Linked DNA regions of Homo sapiens: region 1 is linked to region 2. Evidence: promoter capture Hi-C in human tissues and cell types (Jung and others, 2019). All regions are on one chromosome and are shown on one strand. Each heading gives the region's core, a stretch centred on a gene start or on the middle of the fragment in contact. The rest is flanking DNA. Distances are from core to core; before and after follow the strand shown.

Region 1 (6,179 bases), core at 1,678-4,177, 140 kb before region 2:
ATGCCTCAATCTCTCCATTTATAAAACGGACAGTTATCTACTTCAAGGAGTTGTGAGAAATAAGTGAGAAGGCACATAAACGACTTGACATATCGTAAGAGATCAGAATTAGCTCTTATTCCTTACTCATTCATTCAACATGTTTTTTACGCTACTTTGTGATTTTCACCATTACGCGAGAGGAGCACCAATTTCAACCTAGAACACTGGATTCTTTGGAGGGAGGCTTTTCTTTCCTAGACCTTTACACTTATTTAGGAGCCTGCAAGATGAATTACATACTGAGTTCATTTAACCCTTCCAATGGCCCTGCACTGCAGGCAAATGTGTCAACGACCCCAACACAGGAGAGAGAAAATGGAGGTGAACAAAGGTGAAACAACTAGCTGTAAGTTTCGTATCTGGTTAGTGGGAAAAGGACCATAATCTGTTTCTTCTAGTTCTTTCCTTTGGCACGCCACTTTACATATCCTCCACAATGGAAGGTTATTTGTTTATACCTTTATTCTAGGTATTCTTTGTTTAATCAATTAGCTAATATATTTTATGCCAACAGGGCAGATTCTCACACTTAATTCTATTTAAAATATCCTCTACTTTTACGCCCGGCGCGGTTGCTCACGCCTGTAATCCCAGCACTTTGGGAGGCCAAGGTGGCCAGATCACTTGCCGGTCACTTTTAACTGGCTGACAGGTGCCCAGTATTTAGCCCCCGAATTCTAAGGAAAAATAGGACAGAATAGCAAGCAAAAGGGGTCCAATGGTACTCACTGCTTGGCGATAGGCGATGGTCTCACCGCTCAGCGACAGGCAAAAGTCCCTTCGTGGTCGCCAAAACGTGTCCGGAATTGGTGGGTTCTTGGTCTTACCAACTTCAAGCATGAAGCCGTGGACCCTGGCGGTGTTACAGTTCTTAAAGGCGGCGTGTCCGGAGTTTGTTCCTTCTGATGTTCGGATGTGTTCCGAGTTTCTTCCTTCCGGTGTGTTCATGGTCTACGCTGGCTCAGGAGTGAAGCTGCAAACCTTCAGTGAGTGTTACAGCTCTTAAGGTGGCGCAGCTGGAGTTGTTCGTTCCTCCTGGTGGGTTTGTGGTCTCACTGGCTTCAAGAGTGAATCTGCGGACCTTAGCGGTGAGTGTTACAGCTCATAAACGCAGCTGGACCCAGAGTGAGCAACAGCAACACTTATTGCAAAGACGGAAAGAACACACCTCCTCACACTACAGAAGCGGACCACAGCGAGTTGCTACTGCTCATTCGGGCAGCCTGCTTTTATTCTCTTATCTGGCCCCACCCACATCCTGCTAATTGGTCCATTTTACAGAGAGCTGATTGGTCTGTTTTACAGAGAGCTGATTGGTCCATTTTGACAGGGTGCTGATTGGTGCGTTTAGGAACCCTGAGCTAGACACAAAAGTTCTCCAAGTCCCTACTACATTAGCTAGATACAGAGTGTGGATTGGTATATTTACAAATCCTGAGCTAGACACAGAGTGCTGATTGGTGCATTTACAAACCTTGAGCTAGATACAGAGTGCTGATTGGTGTATTTACAATCCCTTAGCTAGACATAAAGATTAGCCAAGTCCCCACCAGACTCAGGAGCCCAGCTGGCTTCACCCAGTGGATCCCGCACCGGCTGCAGGTGGAGCTGCCTGCCAGTCCCACGCCCTGCGCAAGCACTCCTCAGCCCTCGTGCGGTCGATGGGCCTGGGCGCCGTGGAGCAGGGGGCGGCGCTCGTCAGGGAGGCTCGGGCCGCGCAGGAGCCCACAGAGAGAGAGGGGGGAGGCTCAGGCATGGCAGGCTGCAGGTCCCGAGCCCTGCCCCCGGGGAGGCAGCTAAGGCCCGCACGAGAAATCTAGCACAGCAGCTGCTGGCCCAGGTGCTAAGCCCCTCACTGCCTGGGGCGGCAGGCCGCTCTGAGTGCGGGCCCGCGGAGCCCACGCCCACCCGGAACTCGCGCTGGCCCGCAAGCGCCGCGGGCAGCCCGGGTTCCCGCCCGCGCCTCTCCCTCCACGCTTCCCCGCAAGCTGAGGGAGCCGGCTCCGGCCTTGGCCAGCCCAGAAAGGGACTCCCACAGTGCAGCGGCGGGCTGAAGGGCTCCTCAAGCGCGGCGAGAGTGGGCGCCAAGGCCGAGGAGGCTCCGAGAGCGAGTGAGGGCTGCGAGGGCTGCTAGCAGGCTGTTACCTCTCGCCAGCACTTTGGGAGGCCAAGTTGGCCAGATCACTTGAGGTCAGGAGTTCGAGACCAGCCTGGCCAACATGGTGAAACCTCATCTCTATAAAATACAAAAATTAGCCAGATGTGGTAGCTCACACCTGTAATCCCAGCTACATGGAAGACTGAGGCAGGAGAATTGCTTGAACCTGGAAGGTGAAGGTTGCAGTGAGCCGAGATCGTGCCACTGCACTGCAGCCTGGGCAACAGAGTGACTCTGTCTCAAAAACAAACAAAAATCCTCTATTTTTATGATTTGAGAGCTGGAGACAAGAATCCTAGTATGGAGTTCTTAATGCATAGCTTTTTCCTTTAACCATTAAGTCAAATGAACATTCTAGTTCAACTATTCAGTGATGTTTATCAGTGTATTAATATGCAATATGCCCTCTCATTCACAAAGTAAAACCAACATTAGAGATAGGAAGCTTACTTTCTCTATTCGTACTGTGAGTATTAGAGCAAACCTTTTTGCATAGTTTTCTAAGGAAGTGAATTAAAGAGTTGCTCATAGATATGATAAATAACTTTTTCTTCAGTGTTCTATTTCATTCATGTCTAGTTACTGTGGTGTTACCTATAAAAATAGCATAGGTGCTAACTGGGTGTTACTAGTATCATGGAAATAAGATTCCCAAATCAACTATCTTGTTAGCAGACATGAGAAAATGCTTTTCTCACATTACAGCCGGGCATGGTGGCTCATGCCTGTAATCCCAGCACTTTGGGAGGCTCAGGCAGGCAGATCACTTGAGCTCAGGAGTTCAAGACCAGCCTGGCCAACATGGTGAAACCCTGTCTCTACTAAAACTACAAAAATTAGCTGGGCGTGGTGATGCAGGCCTATAATCTCAGGTACTGGGGAGGCTGAGGCAGGAGAATCGCTTAAACTCAGGAAGTGGAGGTTGCAGTGAGCCAAGATCAAGCCACTGCGCTCCAGCCTGGGTAACAGAGTGAGACTCTCAGTCTCAAAAAAAAAAAAAAAAAAGGTTTACAGAGAAATTTTCAAATACCATTAACATTGCCATAATCGTTCAGTTAAAACTGATGCTCATCAGTTGATGAAATGTTGTAGATCAGTGTGGTCAGTCCGTGAACTGTTTGTCATCAGTCCACAGGGAGATAAGAGCAAGCATTAAAACAATTTTGATAATTTGATATAGCAATCTTATGCTTGTGGAATCTAATAATTTTTAAAAAGTGGTTATGTATTTTTGTCTTTTAAATTTCATTTCTCTAGTAATTCAGTTTTTAAGCTTATTGAGGTGAAATTTACATAACCCCATGCACCTATTTTAAGTATACATTTAGATGAGTTTTGACAAATCTGTTCATCCATGTAATCGTCAACAAAGCATAATATAGGCTATGCTCATCATCCTCCCAAATTTCTTTATGCCTAATCCAGGAAATCAACCATTATCCCTAGCCCTAGGCAACCAGTGATCTGCTTTCTATCCTTACAATGAGATTTGCCTTTTCCAGAGTTGTTGATGAGGCAGTTGTTCACTCCCTTTTATTGCTGAGTCGTACTTCTGTTCTATGGGTATTCATAATTTGTTTATTCAGTCACCTGCTGATGGATATTTGTGTTAACAGTTTGGAGACATTATGAATAAAGCTGTTATAAACATTCGTGTACAAGTCTTTCAGTGAACATATTTTATTTCTCTTAAATAAATGTCTAGGATTGGGCCAGCCACGGTGGCTCATACCTGTAATGCCAGCACTTTGGGAGGCCTAGGCGGGCAGATCACCTGAGGTCGGGAGTTCGAGACTAGCCCGGCCAACGTGGCAAAACTCTGTCTCCACTAAAAATACAAAAATTACCCGGACTTGATGGCTGGTGCCTGTAATCCCAGGTACTTGGGAGGCTGAGGCAGGAGAATCACTTGAACCTGGGAGGTGGAGGTTGCAGTGAGCCGAGATCGCACCATTGCACTCTAGCCTGGGTGACAAGAGTGAAGCTCTGTCTCAAAAAAATAAATACATAAAATAAATGCCTAGGATTAGAATTGCTGTGTCGTGACAAAAGTGTTTAACTTTTCCAAAGTAGTGTGCCATTTTACATTTCCACTAGCAATGTGTGTGACTTCATTTGGTCCATGTCATTGAGAACAGTTGGTATTGTGAGTCTTTTAACTTTTAGCAGTTGTAATGTGTTTTTAGTGGTACTGGATTGTGACTTGGTATTTCGTGATAACTAATAATGCCAAATAGCTTTTCATATGCTTACTGGCCATATGTATATCTTTTTTTATGAAGTGTCTGTACAAATCCTTTGACCATAAATTATTTGATTATCTTAGTGAGTTAAAAGAATTTATCATATATTTTGATATTAAATATCTTACCTTTGTAAGATATTAATATTGCCATAATCATTCAGTTACAACTGATGCTCATTGCTTAATGACAAAATATTATAAATCAGTGTGGTCAATACACTTATCTTACCTTTGTAACCTAGGTAAGATAAGTGTATTGCAAATATTTTCTTCCAATCTGTACCTTGTCCTTTATTTAATTTTCTTTTCTTTTTTTTTTTTTTTTTTTTGAGACAGGGTCTTGCTCTCTCACCCAGGCTAGAGTGCACTGGTATGATCATAGCTTATTATAACCTCAAACTCCTGGACTCAAACAGTGTTCCTGCCTCAGGCTTCTGAGTAGCCAGAACTACAGGTCCATGCTACCAAGGTTGGCTAATTAAATTTTTTTTTTTCATAGAGAGGGGGTCTCACGATGTTGCCCAGGCTGGTCTCAAACTCCTGGGTTCAAGCAGTCCTCCCCAGTCAGCCTCCCAAAGCAATGAAATTACAGGCATGTGTCACTACACCCAGCCTTGCCTTTTATTTTAATAGTATCTTTCAAATAACAGGTGTTTTAAAAATTTTTGATGAAGTCCAATTTACTGTCTTTTTTTTTTTTTATTAGATACAGCGTCTCACTCTGTCACCCCCAGACTGGAGTGCTGTTGTAGCGGCAGAATCATACCTCACTGTAACCTCAAACTCAACCTGCACTTGAACCTCGAATTTTAACCTGGGCTCAAGCAATCCTCCCTCCTCAGCCTTCTGAGTAGCTGGAACTACAGCCGTACACAACCATGCCCAGCTAATTTTATTTTAACTTTTATATTTTTGTAGAGATAGGGTCTTGCTATGTTGCCCAGGCTGGTCTCAAAACTCATGGCCTCAAGTAATCTTCCTGCCTCAGCTTTCCAAAGCACTGTATTTACAGGTATGAGCCACCACATCCAGCCTAGTTTTGCTTCTTTAATATCTAGGAAATCTTTATCTACCCCAAGGTTATGAAAATTCCTTAATAAGTTTTAGATTTTATATTTAGGTCTATAATCCATTGTTTTTATGTGTGGTATGAGGCAAGGGTTTTTCTCCATGAATATATGCAGTTGTTCTAACATTTGTTGAAATAACTACCCTTTCCCTATTGAATTACCTTGGCACCTTTGATTTTGGCACCAAAAATCAATGAGCCATATATGTGGGTCCATTTCTGGATTCTATTCTGTTCATTGACCTATATACATTTATCCTTACCTAAATACCACCTCTTGATTGCTGTAGCTTTATATAGCAAAGCTTTATATAGCACAGTGCAAGTTCTCTTTTTCCAAAATATTTTGGCTATTCTGTGTCATTTGTATTTACATATAAATTTTATAACTAGCTTGTCTACAAAAAAAGACTGGCAGAATTTTTGTTGTAATTCAATTTATAGGTCAATTTAGGAATAACTAACATTTACAAGATTTACATTTACACAATTGGGTCTTAGGCCAGGCACGGTGCTCACGCCTGTAATCCCAGCACTTCAGGAGGCCGAGCCAGGCAGATCACTTGAGGTCAGGAGTTCGAGACCAGCCTGGCCAACATAGCGAAGCCCCCAACTCTACTAAAAATACAAAAAATCAGCCAGGTGTCATGGGACATGCCTGTAAT
Region 2 (5,701 bases), core at 2,662-5,161:
ACACTTCTTTTACCTACCCTACCTCATCCCCATTCCATCTGCTGTGGTTTATGTCCCCCCACATTCATATGTTGAAATCTAATCACCAATGTGATGGTATTAGGAGTTGAAGGCTTTGGACCGTGATCTGGTCATGACAACAGTGCGCTTACAAAGAGACCTCAGAGCTGCCTTGCTTCTTCCGCCATGGGAGGTCACCCTGAGAAGGCTCCATCTATGAACCAGGAAGTGGGCCCTTGCCTGACACTGAATTTGCTGGTATCTTGATTGTGAACTTCTCAGCCTCCAGAGCTGTGAGAAATAAACGTTGTTTATAAGCTACTCCGTTTATGGTATTTTGTTACAGCAGCCTGAATGGACTAAGGCACCATAGAATCAACAGGCATATATTTATACCTACTATTAACCAGGAACTTTGCTCAGCACTGGACATATAGTGGTGAGCAAACATCAAGAAATTCCTTTCCTAATGGAGTGGGAAAGAAAAATGTAATTCAACTAAACACACACAAAAATATCCATATATCAACAGGGATACTGACATCATCGTTTAAATAACAAGAACAACAACAAAAAAGCAATCCTCCAGACTACTAAGAAAGATATAAAGAATGCTGATAAACAGCAGGATAAAAAGGAAAGAAGGGAGTAAGCATGATATTATAAATGATAGGAGTGGCCAAAAGAATGGCACAGTTACATCTGGGAAGAATATTAAAAAGATGAATATGTAATAACAGCATAAGAAATCCACTAAGTCTTTAATAAATAAAATAGTATTGGATTATAACCCAAAGTATAAAACAAATATTTATGAGCCCATACTGATAGAAAAATAAATGATTAAATAAATAAATGAAGGGAAGGGAGAGACCCATCTCCCATGCAGAAGAGCTCCAAATAATTTATGAAGATACTCCGCCTTCAAGGAGATGGAGCATAACTCTCCTTCCTGAAGAAGTGTGGGTTGCATGTAGTGACTTCCTTCCAAAAAAATCTAGTATGGAAATGAAGAAAAAAGGGTAGGTAATCTGTGGAGAAAACTGGTATGCACTACATTAGGAGTATGATTACAGGTGACCTAGGTTCACATCAACAGCAATAAGTCATGTGTACGGTATGTTCCCTGGAGATAATGTGATGAAAATGTCACTTTACCTAGGCCCCTTACCACTTTCTGATCTTCCTCCAAAAAACCTATAACCCCAGTCTAGTTATGAGAAAAATATCAGAGAAACAGCAATTCGCAGTCATTCTACCAGATACTTGACCAGAACTCCTCAAACCCATTATAGTAAGAGAAAGCAAGGGAAGCCTAAGAAACTGTTACAACCAAGAAGAACCTAAGGAATCAGGACAACTAAATGTAATATGGTAGCCTGGATGGCATCCTGGAATAGAAAAGGCATTAGGTAAGAATGAAGGAAATTTGAATAAAGTGTACCATACTAATGTAAGATATTAACAATGTGGGAAACTGGGTGTGGAGTATATGAGAACTCTCTATACTAGCGTTGGAATTTTTATTTAAATCCAAACTGTTCTAAAATTGTTTTAAACATAAAAAAAAAAACACCCACATACAAAGAAAACACTCTTGCAATGCCAGATCTTTTAGTATCCCAGGAACAATATAGAAAAGTCCCCACAACACTTCCAAATACATCCCCTATAGGAATCAAGTTTAGCAGAGACAATGTGTTATATTTACCTAAAGCTTGAAGAGGTCACTCAGCCCCATTCATTTATGCTTTTGTTCGCCTCTTGGTTGTTTCTCCACTACAATTTCAGACTTGGGGTGTATTGTTTCTATGTTGGTGATTCAATAGGAATAGCACAGCAGAACGATTTTCTGTTTTTAATTAGTGACAATTCTACACTAAAAGGCACACTCTTTTCTATTTGAAATTTAGAATTTCAGCAGAATACATAACTTTCTCAGTTGTTCTGTTAACGATTTCTCCAGCCTACCTCTCTGTTGCCTTTTAGCATGAGTGCATTTTTTTTCTTCTGTGTGTTCCATATGATACCAATTGATATTTCAGAATTGCACAAGGGTTTCATTGTGAAACTTTGGCTTTCTGGTTTGACTTTATATAATATTGGTCAGTACATGTCCCTTGCCTGAGACAATGTGCACCTTCCTCCTCCACAAAGGGACGTGGCTCACATCACTTGAGCTGTGCGATGATCACTTGGGCAGCGAGGGCGTGAGAAAATATCATTGTATTGTGGTATTAGACACTCGTCCCGCAGGTTAAGTATTATAAGTGTTACTTTACCAGAACGTGAATAGCAACAATAACTCATTTTACAAAAGAAAGAAAGAGAGACAGAAAGAAAGAGAGAGAGAAAGAAAGAAGAAAGAGAAAGGAAGGGAGGAAGGAAGGAAGGGAAAAAAGCAAAACAAAAAAGGTGAGAGAAAAAAGAAAAAGCAAAAGTAGAACTGCATTGCTTAGTCTATTGTAATTTCCTCCATTTTCCTAAAAAGTTAACGCGAAGAAAACAAAATAACGGCAACGTTCCCAGGATTTCAAATCTCATGAGTCCAGAATCCGTGAAAATCCTGTTTAAAATCATCCGGTGAAATTGGCTTTGGGACGTCTCCCCAGCTACTGGATCATGTGGCTTCTGAATCTTTCTAACAATCGTCCCGTTGGATGTCCCCTGAGGACAGAGCAGCTGGCTAGAGTCCCCAGACCAGACTTCTCTAAGTGAATGTAGATGTGCAGGTGGAGAGGATAAAAGTAATTCTGGCTCAGCAGCCACGAATTCCCTCCACCTCCGCCCCACAAGTGCGCTGCATATCGCCGGCTCAGCTGGGACGCTACAGAGCCCAGACCACGCGGACGCTGCCCCCTCCCCGGGGACTCAAAGTGTGGCCGGCGCCCGCCTCCCAGTGATGCCATCTTTCTTGGGGTCTTAGCATCTTACCAGTGGGTAGTGAGTTTTGCATTCGAATCACGTCCCTCTGTCTGAAAACTTACCCCAACTTTGCAAACAGATGAGAACCTGCTAGTGGGAACCCTTAATTTTCTGTATCTAGAACTGACAAAATCAGACGCAATTCACAAGAAACCCACGACCTCGCGCTCCCTTGCTCCCAGCGTCCGCTCGCGGGCACCCTGGGTTTCCCGCTCGCCTGGGCGCAAGGTCAGACGCCCCGCGGCGACCTCGGCCCAGAGCCGCCCAGACACTGTCAGCCAGCGCCCCGTGGGGGGCTGGAGGGTGGGGGCAGGCTGGTCCAGGCAGGAAGGGTAGAGGAACCCGAGCAACTTACAGCCCAGGGCGACCACCAGGTAGCGCAGCAGCAGCAGGAGGAGGCGGTGGCGGCTCCTCCTCGCCATCTTCCCGGGGCGGCAGCCGGCTGCTCTGAGGAGGTCGAGGGTCCCGGCGGCAGGAGCGCAGGAGGCCGGGGGCCCTTGAACTTCTGGGGCGGGAAAGGAGCAGAGAGTCGGGAGGGGAGGAAGAGGAGGGACGGCTCTAGATGGGATGTCAGTTTCCCCCTCCCCGGGGCGCCTTCTCAGCTGGCTGCCAAGAGGCGGGTCCTCCAGCCCAGGGATGGGGGTCTGTTCTGTTTTGGGGGTGTGGGGGTAGGGGCTAGAGGGCGTGAAAACCAGACGAGGCGTCCGCCGGGTCCTAGCGAGGGGGCAGCAGGAGGAGAGCAGCGCCCGGGAAAGCCCCGGCGGGTCGTCCCTCCGCCCCCACGCCTCCGGGATTGATCGGCTTTGTGTCTGGTCCGCGCGGGGCTGCCAGCTGTCCCCAGGGCGAGGAGCTGGGGGCGGGAGGCGCGGGCAGGCTGGGGGTGGGGGGATTGGGTGTCTCGGGGACGGGGATGTATGCGGGTAGGGAAACGCCTCCTGTTTTGCCCCAACTCCTTTCTTCCCCTCGTTGGCTCAAAACTTCTTTCTGGCTTTTCAGCCTAGGGGTGGAGATATTTGGAAAATTCTGCCCAACGGGCGAAGCTGAGGGGGTGGCGCTCTGAGGAGATGGGGTTCGCGGGCTCCGCCTCGAACTCGAGAAAAAAAAAAGCAATCAAGACTCGTGCTGGAAGTCAGGTCTCAGATTTTAGTACAGCCTTGGTCCCTTCTCAGTTTAAGCTTTTTGCTCCTTGGAGATTTGAGGTGCATTTGTCTCGCGTTCTTGTTCTTTGCTTTTTTTTCAGTGTCAGAGTTGGAAGTTCATCTAATGGTGTGAAATATTTATCATGTTTCTTTCAAGTTACATAACTGCTGCTTGTGGAGTTTTCCACGTGTTAAAACTCTACAGCTGCCCTTTGTCAGGTTTATTTTTGGTCTACTGTGCTTTTAAAAGGGAAACCCATTATGAATGCTCTGTTGCGTGCTTTAAAATTGCACCACACTTACATTGGACGCACGTACACTGGCAATTTTTATATTTGTTCCTAGGGACCAAAAATGTATGGTGTATTCAAGAGTATTGGCAGGTCTGGAAAAAGGCCATTCCCAGGAGAAGAAATTAGTATACATCAGTTTTTTTCTTTTGTTTTTTTGTTTGTTTTTGTTTTTGTTTTTTTTTAAAGGTTGAATAATGGATGAAGTTCTGTACAGCAGATAGTTGATTTAGTGGTGTATTTAAAAAGAATTCAGCTAGCTCAGTGGACAAAGGCGACCAGAGTTTAGCTGTGCAGAACTGTGAGGAATGAGGCATCCTTGCTGTTGCCGTGGTGACAGTGATGAAAACTTAGTACCCAGGGAGGGGGTGGGAGGAGAGGACCCAGGGGACCCAGAAAGGAAAGTCAAAATGGCAAAATGTTAAAACTCGTACTCCAGTCAACCGAGGAGAAGGGGCACAGATTTAACAACAGCTTATGCCAGTTTTTCTGGGCAGTAATGAGAAGGATTTGATGCTTAAAAAGAAAAGTTGTTGGCATCTTCTTTTTTCTAATTCTTGCTACAGCTATATGTCTTTTACTCCTCCCTAAAAATATACACAAAAATGTCATACTTAAAAAAATTCTATGCAATCCTATGTGAGTAACTGACTAAGTTATTTATTTGCCACCCAGCCAAGGCATTTGACAAATGGCAACAATGTGCTGGATGCTGAAGGACAACCATGAACAAGATAGAGGCTTTCTTGCTAACAAGCTCACAGTCTTGAGGGGAGACAGAGTCTTATCAGGAAAGATGCCTGATACCACATGGTAAATGTTACAGGAGGACAGAAAATAATAACAGCTATTTTTATTGCATGCTTTCTCAGTGATGGAGTCTGAATAACGCAATATCTAATCCCCCAACAACTCCATAAAAGAGGAAATGTTATCATTCCCACTTTGCAGATGAGAAAACTGGGCGGAGAGACACTAAATGGCTTGTCCAAGGTCCATGATAAGGGGCTGTTCCTTTTGTTGGGAGTGGGGCCAGGGCTTTCTTTATTAAACCTTGAAAAATGGGTCAAATTCTGAAGGGAAGGACATAAAGGAGAGGCATTCTACATAGAGGAAACAGCAGGATCCAGAGCTAGGAGATTGAAAAATTATGGTTTATTTAGAAAAAGCAAGGTTCTACAGTACTAAAGTGTATGTGGGATCGGGATAGTGAGGTAGGTGGTGGTGGTGGTAGAAACTGAAGGGGAGGTTAGAGTACGAAGAGCATTCACGCTACTGTCTAGACCTCATCCTACAGCTAATGAGCTTTTTGAAAGCAATGAGATAAGAAAAGACTCATATTTTAGA

The links. The method cuts DNA at HindIII sites, captures the fragments that hold promoters and counts their contacts. A contact is called where the count stands out against the background at its distance.
Region 1: a contact is called between a fragment that was not itself captured here and the fragment with the promoter of JAM2 in region 2, in 2 of the 25 tissues and cell types used here (lymphoblastoid cells and thymus).

Annotation. Positions count from the first base shown.
Region 1 is chr21:25,774,199-25,780,377 of GRCh38, reverse strand. No RefSeq gene overlaps it. Among named protein-coding and RNA genes, the nearest start is that of GABPA, 42 kb to the right of the region's middle. The HindIII fragment of the contact is 3,438 bases long and covers 1,209-4,646 here.
Region 2 is chr21:25,637,468-25,643,168 of GRCh38, reverse strand. JAM2 (junctional adhesion molecule 2) reads right to left here and starts at 3,911. Exons shown (of 10, transcript NM_021219.4): 1 at 3,281-3,911. The coding sequence starts at 3,347. LOC124905001 (a long non-coding RNA gene) reads left to right here. Exons shown (of 2, transcript XR_007067826.1): 2 at 1-321. RefSeq lists enhancers at 2,929-2,998, 2,901-3,401, 4,139-4,278 and a silencer at 3,729-3,918. The HindIII fragment of the contact is 5,846 bases long and covers 2,910-5,701 here.